4 separate regions of the Homo sapiens genome follow, and all the other regions are linked to region 2. Evidence: promoter capture Hi-C in human tissues and cell types (Jung and others, 2019). All regions are on one chromosome and are shown on one strand. The core of a region is centred on a gene start or on the middle of the fragment in contact, and the rest is flanking DNA. Distances in the headings are between cores, read along the strand shown.

The links. The method cuts DNA at HindIII sites, captures the fragments that hold promoters and counts their contacts. A contact is called where the count stands out against the background at its distance.
Region 1: a fragment that was not itself captured here is called in contact with the fragment with the promoter of MRPL48 in region 2 in 2 of the 25 tissues and cell types used here (H1 embryonic stem cells and mesenchymal stem cells).
Region 3: a contact is called between a fragment that was not itself captured here and the fragment with the promoter of MRPL48 in region 2, in 1 of the 25 tissues and cell types used here (thymus).
Region 4: a fragment that was not itself captured here is called in contact with the fragment with the promoter of MRPL48 in region 2 in 1 of the 25 tissues and cell types used here (hippocampus).

The regions. Positions count from the first base shown.
Region 1 is chr11:73,935,109-73,937,808 of GRCh38, forward strand. No RefSeq gene overlaps it. Among named protein-coding and RNA genes, the nearest start is that of DNAJB13, 15 kb to the right of the region's middle. RefSeq lists an enhancer at 1,687-2,321. The HindIII fragment of the contact is 5,193 bases long and covers 1-2,700 here.
Region 2 is chr11:73,786,483-73,789,182 of GRCh38, forward strand. MRPL48 (mitochondrial ribosomal protein L48) reads left to right here and starts at 1,392. Exons shown (of 8, transcript NM_016055.6): 1 at 1,392-1,510. The coding sequence starts at 1,490. RefSeq lists enhancers at 1,326-1,385, 1,526-1,605. The HindIII fragment of the contact is 15,089 bases long and covers 1-2,700 here.
Region 3 is chr11:73,998,059-74,000,762 of GRCh38, forward strand. It overlaps UCP3 (uncoupling protein 3), which reads right to left. Exons shown (of 7, transcript NM_003356.4): 7 at 2,219-2,704. Among named protein-coding and RNA genes, the nearest start is that of UCP3, 9.7 kb to the right of the region's middle. The HindIII fragment of the contact is 6,388 bases long and covers 1-2,704 here.
Region 4 is chr11:73,580,155-73,582,854 of GRCh38, forward strand. All of the region lies in intron 1 of FAM168A (family with sequence similarity 168 member A), which reads right to left. It also overlaps the pseudogene HMGN2P38. Among named protein-coding and RNA genes, the nearest start is that of FAM168A, 17 kb to the right of the region's middle. The HindIII fragment of the contact is 9,693 bases long and covers 1-2,700 here.

The DNA.
Region 1 (2,700 bases), core at 167-2,666, 150 kb after region 2:
ACTGGCAGGTGAGCTCGGCAGCATGAAGATTTGGTCACTTTCTGACCACTCAATTTACCCAAAACTTGCAGTTTATTTTTTAGCTCTTTAATTGACTTTTCTGTCCTTTGGCCCACCTCCAAAAGCGTGTTTTACTTACTCCAAATACACCTAAAGTAAGCCTTTTGCCTCAAATAATATGAAAGAGCTACTTCAAGGCAGGCCATCCTCTGTAACAGTGTGGTTTCAGAGACCCAGGAAAGTTCTTCAATATCTTAGGCACTAGTATCTGAAATGCCATCAGGGAACCAAGCTTTTCCTTCTGCAGTTAGAGATGAGATTTTTTTTGTTTGTTTTTTTAATTCAAGTAAGTTTATTTCTTTTTTTTTTTTTAAATGATTTAACTTTTATTCTGAAAAGCCTCCTGAATATTTATATCCCTAGAACGATACATAAGAATTGATCATCTTTCCTTATGGGAGGACTTTTTTCTTTTTTCTTTTTTTTTTTTTTTCTTTTTAATTTTATTTTTTTTTTAATTGATCATTCTTGGGTGTTTCTCACAGAGGGGGATTTGGCAGGGTCATAGGACACTAGTGGAGGGAAGGTCAGCAGACAAACAAGTGAACAAAGGTCTCTGGTTTTCCTAGGCAGAGTGTTTGTGTCCCTGGGTACTTGAGATTAGGGAGTGGTGATGACTCTTAAGGAGCATGCTGCCTTCAAGCATCTGTTTAACAAAGCACATCTTGCACCGCCCTTAATCCATTTAACCCTGAGTGGACACAGCACATGTTTCAGAGAGCACAGGGTTGGGGGTAAGGTCATAGATCAACAAGATCCCAAGGCAGAAGAATTTTTCTTAGTACAGAACAAAATGAAAATTCTCCCATGTCTACTTCTTTCTACACAGACACGGCAACCATCCGATTTCTCAATCTTTTCCCCACCTTGCCCCCTTTTCTATTCCAGAAAACCGCCATCGTCATCATGGCCCATTCTCAATGAGCTGTTGGGTACACCTCCCAGACGGGGTGGTGGCCGGGCAGAGGGGCTCCTCACTTCCCAGTAGGGGCAGCCGGGCAGAGGCGCCCCTCAGCTCCCGGACCGGGTGGCTGGCCAGGCGGGGGGCTGACCCCCCAACCTCCCTCCCAGACGGGGCGGCTGGCCGGGTGGGGGGCTGACCCCCCCACCTCCCTCCCGGACGGAGCGGCTGGCCGGGCAGGGGGCTGAGCCCCCCACCTCCCTCCTGGATGGGGCGGCTGGCCGGGCAGAGTGGCTCCTCACTTCCCAGTAGGGGCGGCCGGGCAGAGGCGCCCCTCACCTCCCGGACGGGGCGGCTGGCCGGGCAGGGGGCTGACCCCCCCACCTCCCTCCCGGACGGGGCGGCTGGCCGGGCGGGGGGCTGACTCCCCCACCTCCCTCCCGGACGGGGCAGCTGGCCGGGCAGAGGGGCTCCTCACTTCCCAGTAGGGGCGGCCGGGCAGAGGCGCCCCTCACCTCCCGGACGGGGCGGCTGGCCGGGCGGGGGGCTGACCCCCCCACCTCCCTCCCAGATGGGGCAGCTGGCTGGGCAGAGGGGCTCCTGGCTGGGCAGAGGGGCTCCTCACTTCCCAGTAGGGGCGGCCGGGCAGAGGCGCCCCTCACCTCCCAGACGGGGCGGCTGGCCGGGCGGGGGGCAGAGCCCCCCACCTCCCTCCCGGACGGGGCGGCTGGCCGGGTGGGGGGCTGACCCCCACCTCCCTCCCGGACGGGGTGGCTGCCGGGCGGAGACGCTCCTCACTTCCCAGACGGGGTGGCAGCCAGGCGGAGGGGCTCCTCACTTCTCAGACGGGGCGGTTGCCAGGCGGAGGGTCTCCTCACTTCTCAGACGGGGCGGCCGGGCAGAGACGCTCCTCACCTCCCAGACGGGGTCGCGGCCGGGCCGAGGCGCTCCTCACATCCCAGATGAGGCGGCGGGGCAGAGGCGCTCTCCACATCTCAGACGATGGGCTGCCGGGCAGAGACGCTCCTCACTTCCTAGATGGGATGGCGGCCGGGACGAGGTGCTCCTCACTTCCCAGGTGGGATGGCGGCTGGGCAGAGACGCTCCTCACTTTCCAGACTCGGCAGCCAGGCAGAGGGGCTCCTCACATCCCAGACGATGGGCAGCCAGGCAGAGACGCTCCTCACTTCCCAGATGGGGTGGCGGCCGGGCAGAGGCTGCAATCTCCGCACTTTGGGGGGCCAAGGCAGGCGGCTGGGAGGTGGAGGCCGTAGCGAGCCGAGATCATGCCACTGCACTCCAGCCTGGGCACCATTGAGCACTGAGTGAATGAGACTCCGTCTGCAATCCCGGCACCTCGGGAGGCCGAGGCTGGCGGAACACTCGCGGCTAGGAGCTGGAGACCAGTCCGGCCAACACAGCGAAACCCTGTCCCCACCAAAAAAACACGAAAACCAGTCAGGCGTGGCGGCGCGCGCCTGCAATCGCAGGCACTCGGCAGGCTGAGGCAGGAGAATCAGGCAGGGAGGCTGCAGCGAGCCGAGATGGCAGCAGTACAGTCCAGCTTTGGCCCGGCATGAGAGGGAGACCGTGGAAAGGAGAGGGAGAGGGAGACGGGAGAGGGAGAGGGAGAGGGAGAGGGAGACGGGAGAGGGAGAGGGAGACGGGAGAGGGAGAGCGAGGAGAGATGAGATTTTAAACACAGCACTCCTTTTTCCCTATATGAGTGATGTGAGATT
Region 2 (2,700 bases), core at 142-2,641:
GGGATTACAGGCATGCACCACTACGCCCAGCTAATTTTTGTATTTTTAGTAGAGACGGAGTTTCACAGTTTTGGTCAGGCTGGTCTCAAACTCCCGACCTTGTGATCCGCCTGCCTTGGCCTCCCAAAGTGCTGGGATTACAGGCATGAGCCACCGCACCCGGCCATGTATCTTATTAGATTGTATTTACCTGGACTAGACAAGGAAAGAAACTCTCTGGCTGCCAACCTGCCCTTTTGCAAACCTATAGTCACAGTCCCATAAAATAGATGAAGCACAGGCACGGAAATGAAACAGCTCACCACTTATATAACATTATGTTAACTAGGTACCTTCTTCCTGTCTCTGTTCCTCATCTGTGAAATGGGTATAATGATCCTCAGCCTCATAGGGTTATTGGAAAGACTAAATGAACCCATACACCCATAAAGAACCGACCTGGCACATACTAGCATTTGATTGATTTTTTTTTTCTTATTTAAAATTTCACTTCTAAAACCCCAATAGCATTTATTAGGCAATAATCAATCACTGTACTGGAGGAGGTATGCCTGGTCCATTATATTTCCAAGCATAATTAATTGTCGTATCTGTGTTACCTCAGTACTTTGCACACAATTCTGGTATTTCACTTACCATACTAGATACTAATTATTTGTTACTAGATACTAATTATTTTTTGCTATTATTTTGATTGAGTTCCTCAAGGACTGAGATCCTGACTAATTTATTCCAGCATCTAGCACAGGACGTGGAAATCTGACTTCTAAACTCAATTTAAGAGATGATTGGCTGGGCCTGGTGGCTCACGCTTGTAATCCCAGCACTTTAGGAGGCCGAGGCGGGCGGATCACCTGAGGTCGGGAGTTCAAGACCAGCCTGACAAACATGGAGAAACCTCATCTCTAGTAAAAATATAAAAATTAGGCGGGCGTGGTGGCGGGCACCTGTAATCCCAGCTACTTGGAGACAGAATTGCTTGAACCCGAGAGGCGGAGGTGGCAGTGAGCTGAGATCGTGCCACTACACTCCAGCCTGCGCAACAGAGCGAGACTCCGTCTCAAACAAACAAAAAAGTCAGATCTGTGCTAGACGCTGAAAGGAATTAATCAGACAGGATCTCAGTCTTTTAAGAACTTTCAAATACAGAGAAGAGGTGGTAACAAATCATTAGTGTATAATATTGTAAGCGAAAAATTAGAATTGTGTGCTAAGTACTGGGGTAACACAGAGATGGTAATTAATTCTTTCTGGAGAAACAGCAGTGAATGTGACAACCTGAGTGAGGGTGGAAAGCAGGAGAATTTCTAGACTCTGAATTTCAGAAGCTTCCGGAACTAAAATGATGTGGAAGTTGAGTGAGTCTCGGTGGGATATTGCTGCTGCACCTGGTCAAGGCCGTTCCTTCAGTGTTTTCAGACGCCCTGGGAACGCGGCTGCAGGGTCCGGTCTTCGGTTTGCACAGCTAGAGGCCGCGCAGCAGCAAAGGATGAGCGGAACCTTGGAAAAGGTAACGTAGATTCCACGCACGCGGGGCGCGGGGAGATGGCGGACGGTGCAGAGAGGGGAGATGGCGGAGGGTGCAGAGCGGGGAGGTGGCGGCGCGCGGACATCCGGGGATGAGACACTGGGGCGCCCAAGGTCCTTCCCAGCAGCACATGCGGCTGCCTGGCGTTGAAGGGGCTGAGCAGATTCCTTTCCACCCGGGGCGAACTCTGCCGAGCCGACCCGTGCCACGCCCACACCACATGCCACTCTCTCCACCCAGTTTCTGGAAAAGGGAGAGCTCTGCGATGGGAATCACGACACCAGGATACGGTCCCGATTAACTGTGTGACCTTGGGCAGGTCATTTTATATTTGCATTCAGTTATCAACTTCCAGAATTTTTTCTAAGAATGCAGTTTTGACTTGCTGAACTGATGAGGATGTGAAGCTACCTGGTAATAAGGAAACAGCAGTAATAAACTAGGTTTTTGTTCTTTTCTTTCTTTTTTTTTTTTTTTTTTTTTTGACGGATTTCGCTCTGTTGCCCAGGCTGGAGTGCAGTGGTGCGATCCCGGCTCACCACAACCTTCGCCTTCCGGGTTCAAGCGATTCTCCTGCCTCAGCCTCCTCAGTAGCTGGGACTACAGGCGCGGGACACCATGCCGGGCTAATTTTTGTATTTTTAGTAGAGACGGGGTTTCACTGTGTTGGCCAGGCTGGTCTCGAATTCCTGACCACGTGATCTGCCCGCCTCGGCCTCCCAAAGTGCCGGGATTACAGGCATGAGCCACCGCGCCCTGCAATAATTAACAACATTTTCGTTTCCAAAACCTTATTTAAGTGACTGTCATAAAACCGTATGAACCACTATAAATGTGTTCCTGGGCTTTCTCCCGTTCCCTTAACAGATTTAACAGATTTCATTTGTGCTCTTTCAATTGTATCATGCTGCTTAGATTAATGACTCATTTTAGCAATTTATATTAAAATTTTGTTTTAGGCATTAATTGTGGCAACTATATTTCCATGATTCATAGGTCAGCATGGTCGTTGCAGCTCATGGGTCTACCTGTGGTTACCTTGGGGCTGCCCTTGAATGTGTGAGGGCCCACGCCTCACTTCATCCTTTATGAAACAATTCACTTGTTCACCTTAGCCAGTTTGTAAGAATTTGGCCAAATATGGTGCCAAGATAATAGAAAAAAAAATCAGA
Region 3 (2,704 bases), core at 121-2,620, 210 kb after region 2:
ACTGGAGGTGGTGTCTCTAGGAGTGTGGTGGGGAAATGGATGCACAGAACTTAGAAACTGGCCTCAGCTGGTAATCTGACCTTCTCATGAATTCACATCCCTGGTTTCCTGGAAGCATAAATTGAGGCCAGCGTTGAAAAGGTGTTCACACCGTAGCCTGGGAGAAACTGTCTCTCAGTCCTTGGAATCACAGAACTAAAGAGCTTCAGGTCATCTGGTTGAATCTCTGCCTTTAAGAAGTGGGGAAAGAGACTGGGAGCAGTGGCTCACGCCTGTAATCCCAGCACTTTGGGAGGCTGAGGTGGGTGGATCATCTGAGGTCAGGAGTTTGAGACCAGCCTGGTCAACACAGTGAAAACCCCATCTTTACTAAAAATACAAAAACTAGCCAGAGTGTGGTGGCACGCACCTGTAGTCCCAGCTACTCGAGAGTCTGAGGCAGGAGAATTACTTGAACCTGGGAGGTGGATGTTGCTGTGAGCCAAGATTGTGTTAGCCTGGGCACAGAGCAAGACTTTGACTCAAAAAAAAAAAAAAAAAAAAAAAAAACAGTGGAGAAAGAGATCTAGTATTTTGGCCTAGAAACCTCACAAGACTCACCAATCTCGTTTTTCTTTCTCCAAAAGGCTAGACTTGGCAGTTAGTAGGCTCCTGATCCCAGTCAAAATATCTCTTAGAATATTTTATCCTCCCTTTCTCAGAATCATCACCTGAATAGCATCCTCTGGGTAGGTGGTGTGTTAATATTGCCATATGGAAATTCATGGAAGATATAGTTCCTGGCCCTAGAAACTTACAAACTGAGACCAGGAGTTTGAGAGTGATTTGCACATGTCAGTCAAGTCAAAAGAAAGAGAAACTCTTTTTTCTTTTTTCGTTTTTGTTTTTTGAGATGGGGTCTCACTCTGTCACCTAGGCTAGGGTGCAGTGGTGTAAGCTCGGCTCACTGCAACCTCCGCCTCCTGGGCTCAAGTGATCCTCCCACCTGAGCCCCCCGAGTAGCTGGGACCGCAGGCACATGTCACCATGCCTGGCTAAAAAGGGAAACTTTTAATTTAATTCAATTCAATTTAATTTTTTTTTTTGAGACAGAGTCTCGCCTAGGCTGGAGTGCAGTGGTGTGGTTTTGGCTCACTGCAACCTCAGTCTCCTGGGTTCGAGTGATTCTCTTGCCTCAGCCTCCCGAGTAGCTAGGATTACAGGCACCCACCACCATGCCTGGGTAATTTTTTTTTTTTTTTTTGGTATTTTTAGTAGAGACAGAGTTTCACCATGTTGGCCAGGCTGGTCTCAAACTCTTGACCTCAAGTGATCCGCCCGCCTCGGCCTCCCAAAGGCGTGAGCCACTGCACCAACCGGAAACTTTTCAAAATATGGGTTTTATTTGAAAACCAAGCCAGACATTAAATCAAAATAATTTTTTTTTGCTTTTGTATGAACTCTCCAGTTTGTATACATAGATGATCTCAAGTTATAATTTAAATTTAGGAAAGTGCTGAGGATGAATAGATATTTGCTTTTTCCCAGGGTCTGGAGGGGTAGGAGCAGGGAAGCAGGGAAATGACATTACCGAGTGCCTCCTGTATGCCAACGATTTTTTGTTTGTTTTGTTTCAGAGAAGGAGTTATGCTCTGTTGCCAAGGCTGGAGTGCAGTCATTATTCACAGGTGCAGTCATGGCTCACTGCAGCCCTGAACTCCTGGGCTCAAGCAGTCCTCTCGCTTAAGCCTCCCAGGTAGCAGGTGCACACCACATGTCTGCTTTCCAAGGAGTTTTAGGTCAACCCTCACAACAAGCCTGTGAAGCAGCGATTGTTATTCCCACTTCTCTGGTAGCACACCAAGGTGCAAGGATTCCCTGTGGCTAGGTGGTTAGTAAGGTAGAATGGGGTGAGGTTTGAACCCAGTCCTGACAATCATCAGAGCTACGCAAGGCTGCCAAGAAGTAGAAAAAGATAGTGGCATTTTGGGTCCCCATTATCAATTCGAAAAATGTACAGTCTTAAGCTTGGAAGTCGGTCGTCTGGTTCAACCCTGCCTTTTGCAGAAGCAGGAGCTGGAACCCTAAAAAAATAAAGCTACTTGCCTGCAATTAAACAGGGTGAGAGGGGGCAGATGAAGTGTAGGCATGTGGGGCTGGATCTGGCCCTGCCCTGACACATAGAAAGCCTGAAATAGAAGTGAGAAAGGAAAATTCCAAGAAAGAAAAGGCAGAGAAGTGGCTGTTCTTACTCCCACACCTAAGGTGTGAATTCTTTTATTGAGTCATAATAATTTCCCGAGAATTCCGAGTCCTGCTACTTTAGGTTCTTGCCCAGGAATCCACCTCTTTTCCCCCAAGCCCAACAATCCTTTGAGGTACTCATGATTGAGCACGTGGTGGGGGGGGTGGGGAAGAGGCTGCATGGGGGTGGGGCTCCTGTGGCTTCACGTCATCCACTGTCACCTCTGGTCCCCAAGTCTCTGGATCCTTTGGTCTCACCTCTAGACAACCGTATCTTTCAAACCTTCTTCCCTGGCAACTCCTCTCTGTCCCGACAAAATCTCTCCCAAGGCATTGTCCTTGTAGTTAGATTTACACAGAGCTTTTGCTTTTATAAAGTGCGTTCATGCCCAGCTTCTCACTTGCATGTCATAGCACCCCTGGTGAGGTGGACAGGGAAGGGATGGCTCCCTCCATTTTGTAGGAAAGTGGGGGCTGCCCT
Region 4 (2,700 bases), core at 191-2,690, 210 kb before region 2:
GAAGAGGTGAGAACGACCCCCAGACCAACCAAAGCCTGTGCTCCGCTGCATCCCACGCCCAGTGCCTACGTCCCGCTGCCGTCACTGTCGCCGCCACCATGCCCAAGAAAGGCTGAAGGGGATGCTAAAGGAGATAAAGCCAAGGTGAAGGATGAACCACAGAGAAGATCCACAAGGTTGTCTGCTAAACCTGCTCCTCCAAAGATAGAGCCCAGGCCAAAAAAGCCCCTGCAAAGAAGGGAGAGAAGGTACCCAAAGGGAAAAAGGGAAAAGCTGAGGCTGGCCAGGATGGGGATAACCCTACAGAAAATGGAGATGCCAAAACAGACCAGGGACAGAAAGCTGAAGGTGCTGGAGATGCCAAGCGAAGTGTGTGCATTTTTAATAACCATGTACTTCTGGTGACTGTACAGTTTGAAATACTATTTTTAATCAAGTTTTATAAAAATGCAGAATTTTGTTTTACTTTTTTAAGCTATGTTGTTAGCACACAGAACATGTCCTTGTTGTTTTGAGAGGAAGGGGCTTATGTCACTAATAAAATGTCTCCAAAGCTGGATTGATGTGGGGAAAACACCTTTCCCTTCCAGTTTTGAGAGACTTCCTCTTGGCTCCCAGGAGCAGGGATTCCCTGACTTTGACACACATGGCCACCTTGGCACAAAAGCTTTGTGGTATGGAAAAACAAATTTGTTTTTATGTCCTCTTCTCCCTTTCTACCTTTCAGCTAGACTTAACTCCCTTAAACCCAGACATCTGTTGGGACCTGACCCCTAATCATTGGTTACCAGTGTGTCAGGCAATCTGGACTTTCCAGTGATGCCACTGAGATGGCACCTGTCAAAAGAGCAGTGGTTCCGTTTCTAGATTGTGGATCTTCAGGTAAATTCTGTCACTTTCACTTCACTTCCTGAAAGTCAGGGTCAGCTTATGAAAAGTTGTTAAACAACATGCTAAATGTGAAATGTCAACCCTCACTCTAAACTTTCCCTGTTCAGAGCATCAGATGAAGACTTCATTGGGTTTTATAGTGGCTTTCTGATTTTTGGTAGGCCATTAAAGAAGGGAGTTTGAAAGTTGTTGTATACTGTTAACGATTGTCTGCACATGTCCTGTCTGAAATGCCATGATTGTTTACGGACAGTATCTTTAATAAAGCTGGATACAGTTTGGCTTGGAAAAAAACAGAATATAATACTTGTATACCACATTTATGAGCTAAAAAACAGAATACTTGTATATCACATTTATGAGCTTCTTTCAAATGTATTGAATTTCAAAGGTGGATATAGATATGACTGTCCCCACTTTACATGGGAAAAAACTGAGATTCACAGAGTACTTAAACAACCTGTCCAAGTCAGACAGCTAGTAAGTGGCTAAGCTGGGGTTCAAATTCAGTTCTTCTGACTCCATGTCCAGAATTGTCCACACATAAGACCTAGTCTTCTTTCAAAAATAAGCTCAGGTTACTCTTCCTCCAAGAACTCTTCCCTAAAAAAAGGTTTGAATACCCTGTCTCTGCTACTTATTTTATAACATCTATAACATTGAACTGTAACTTGGTTTTTGTTTTTTTTTTGAGATGGAGTCTCCCTCTATTGCCCAGGCTGGAGTGCAGTGGCGCAATCTCGCCTCGCTGCAAACTCTGCCTCCCGGGTTCAAGCGATTATCCTGCCTCAGCCTCCTGAGTAGCTGGGACTACAGGCATGCGCCACCATGCCCAGCTAATTTTTGTATTTTTAGTAGAGACGAGGTTTCACCACGTTGGCCAGGATGGTCTCAAACTCCTGACCTTGTGATCCGCCCACCTCGGCCTCCCAAAGTGCTGGGATTACAGGCATGAGCCACCGCACCCAGCCAACTTATTTGTTTATACCTTGTCTCTATTGCATCTGGAGCTCCTTGAAGACAGCAACTACACCTTACTCATCTCCGTGTATCATCAAAACCAACCTAACATAGAGGCTGATATCCATGTTGACTAAAATAATGCATAGATGCATAAGTGATTATTTTTGCTTGCTACAAAGACTCTAATCAGCAAAATATTTTGGGGAATCCTAATTAAAATTGCCTGCCAGAGGCCGGGCACCGTGACTCATGCCTGTAATCCCAGCACTTTGGGAGGCCAAGGTGGGTGGATCACGAGGTCAGGAGATCGATACCATCCCGGCTAACACAGTGAAACCCCATCTCTACTAAAAATACAAAAAAAATTAGCCAGGCGTGGAGGCACACACCTGTAGTCCCAGCTACTCGGGAGGCTGAGGCAGGAGATTGGCATGAACCCAGGAGGCGGAGCTTGCAGTGAGTCGAGATGGTGCCATTGCACTCCAGCCTGGGGAAAAAAAAAATTGCCTGCCAGAAACTACTAATGGCTTAATAGGGTAATTAAAAACCCACATTTCTTAAAGTCTCAATCTTTCTACCATCAAATAGTTAAGTCAAGTCTTATATTTCAGTTGTAAAAATCAAATACACAAGCATTTGATACAATTTGGTTTTATAGCATTCATTTTATATTATCTACAAATTAAAACTGACCAAAGGTTAATAAAGAGGAAACTTTGAAGCAGAAAAAAGAACTCTAGACTGAGTCAGAAAAGCAATCATAAGGTCCCGTCTTCTCCATTTACCAATGTGATCTGCATTCATTCCAAGTGAGATTCCAGGGATCCGTCATAAATCAAGTTCTTT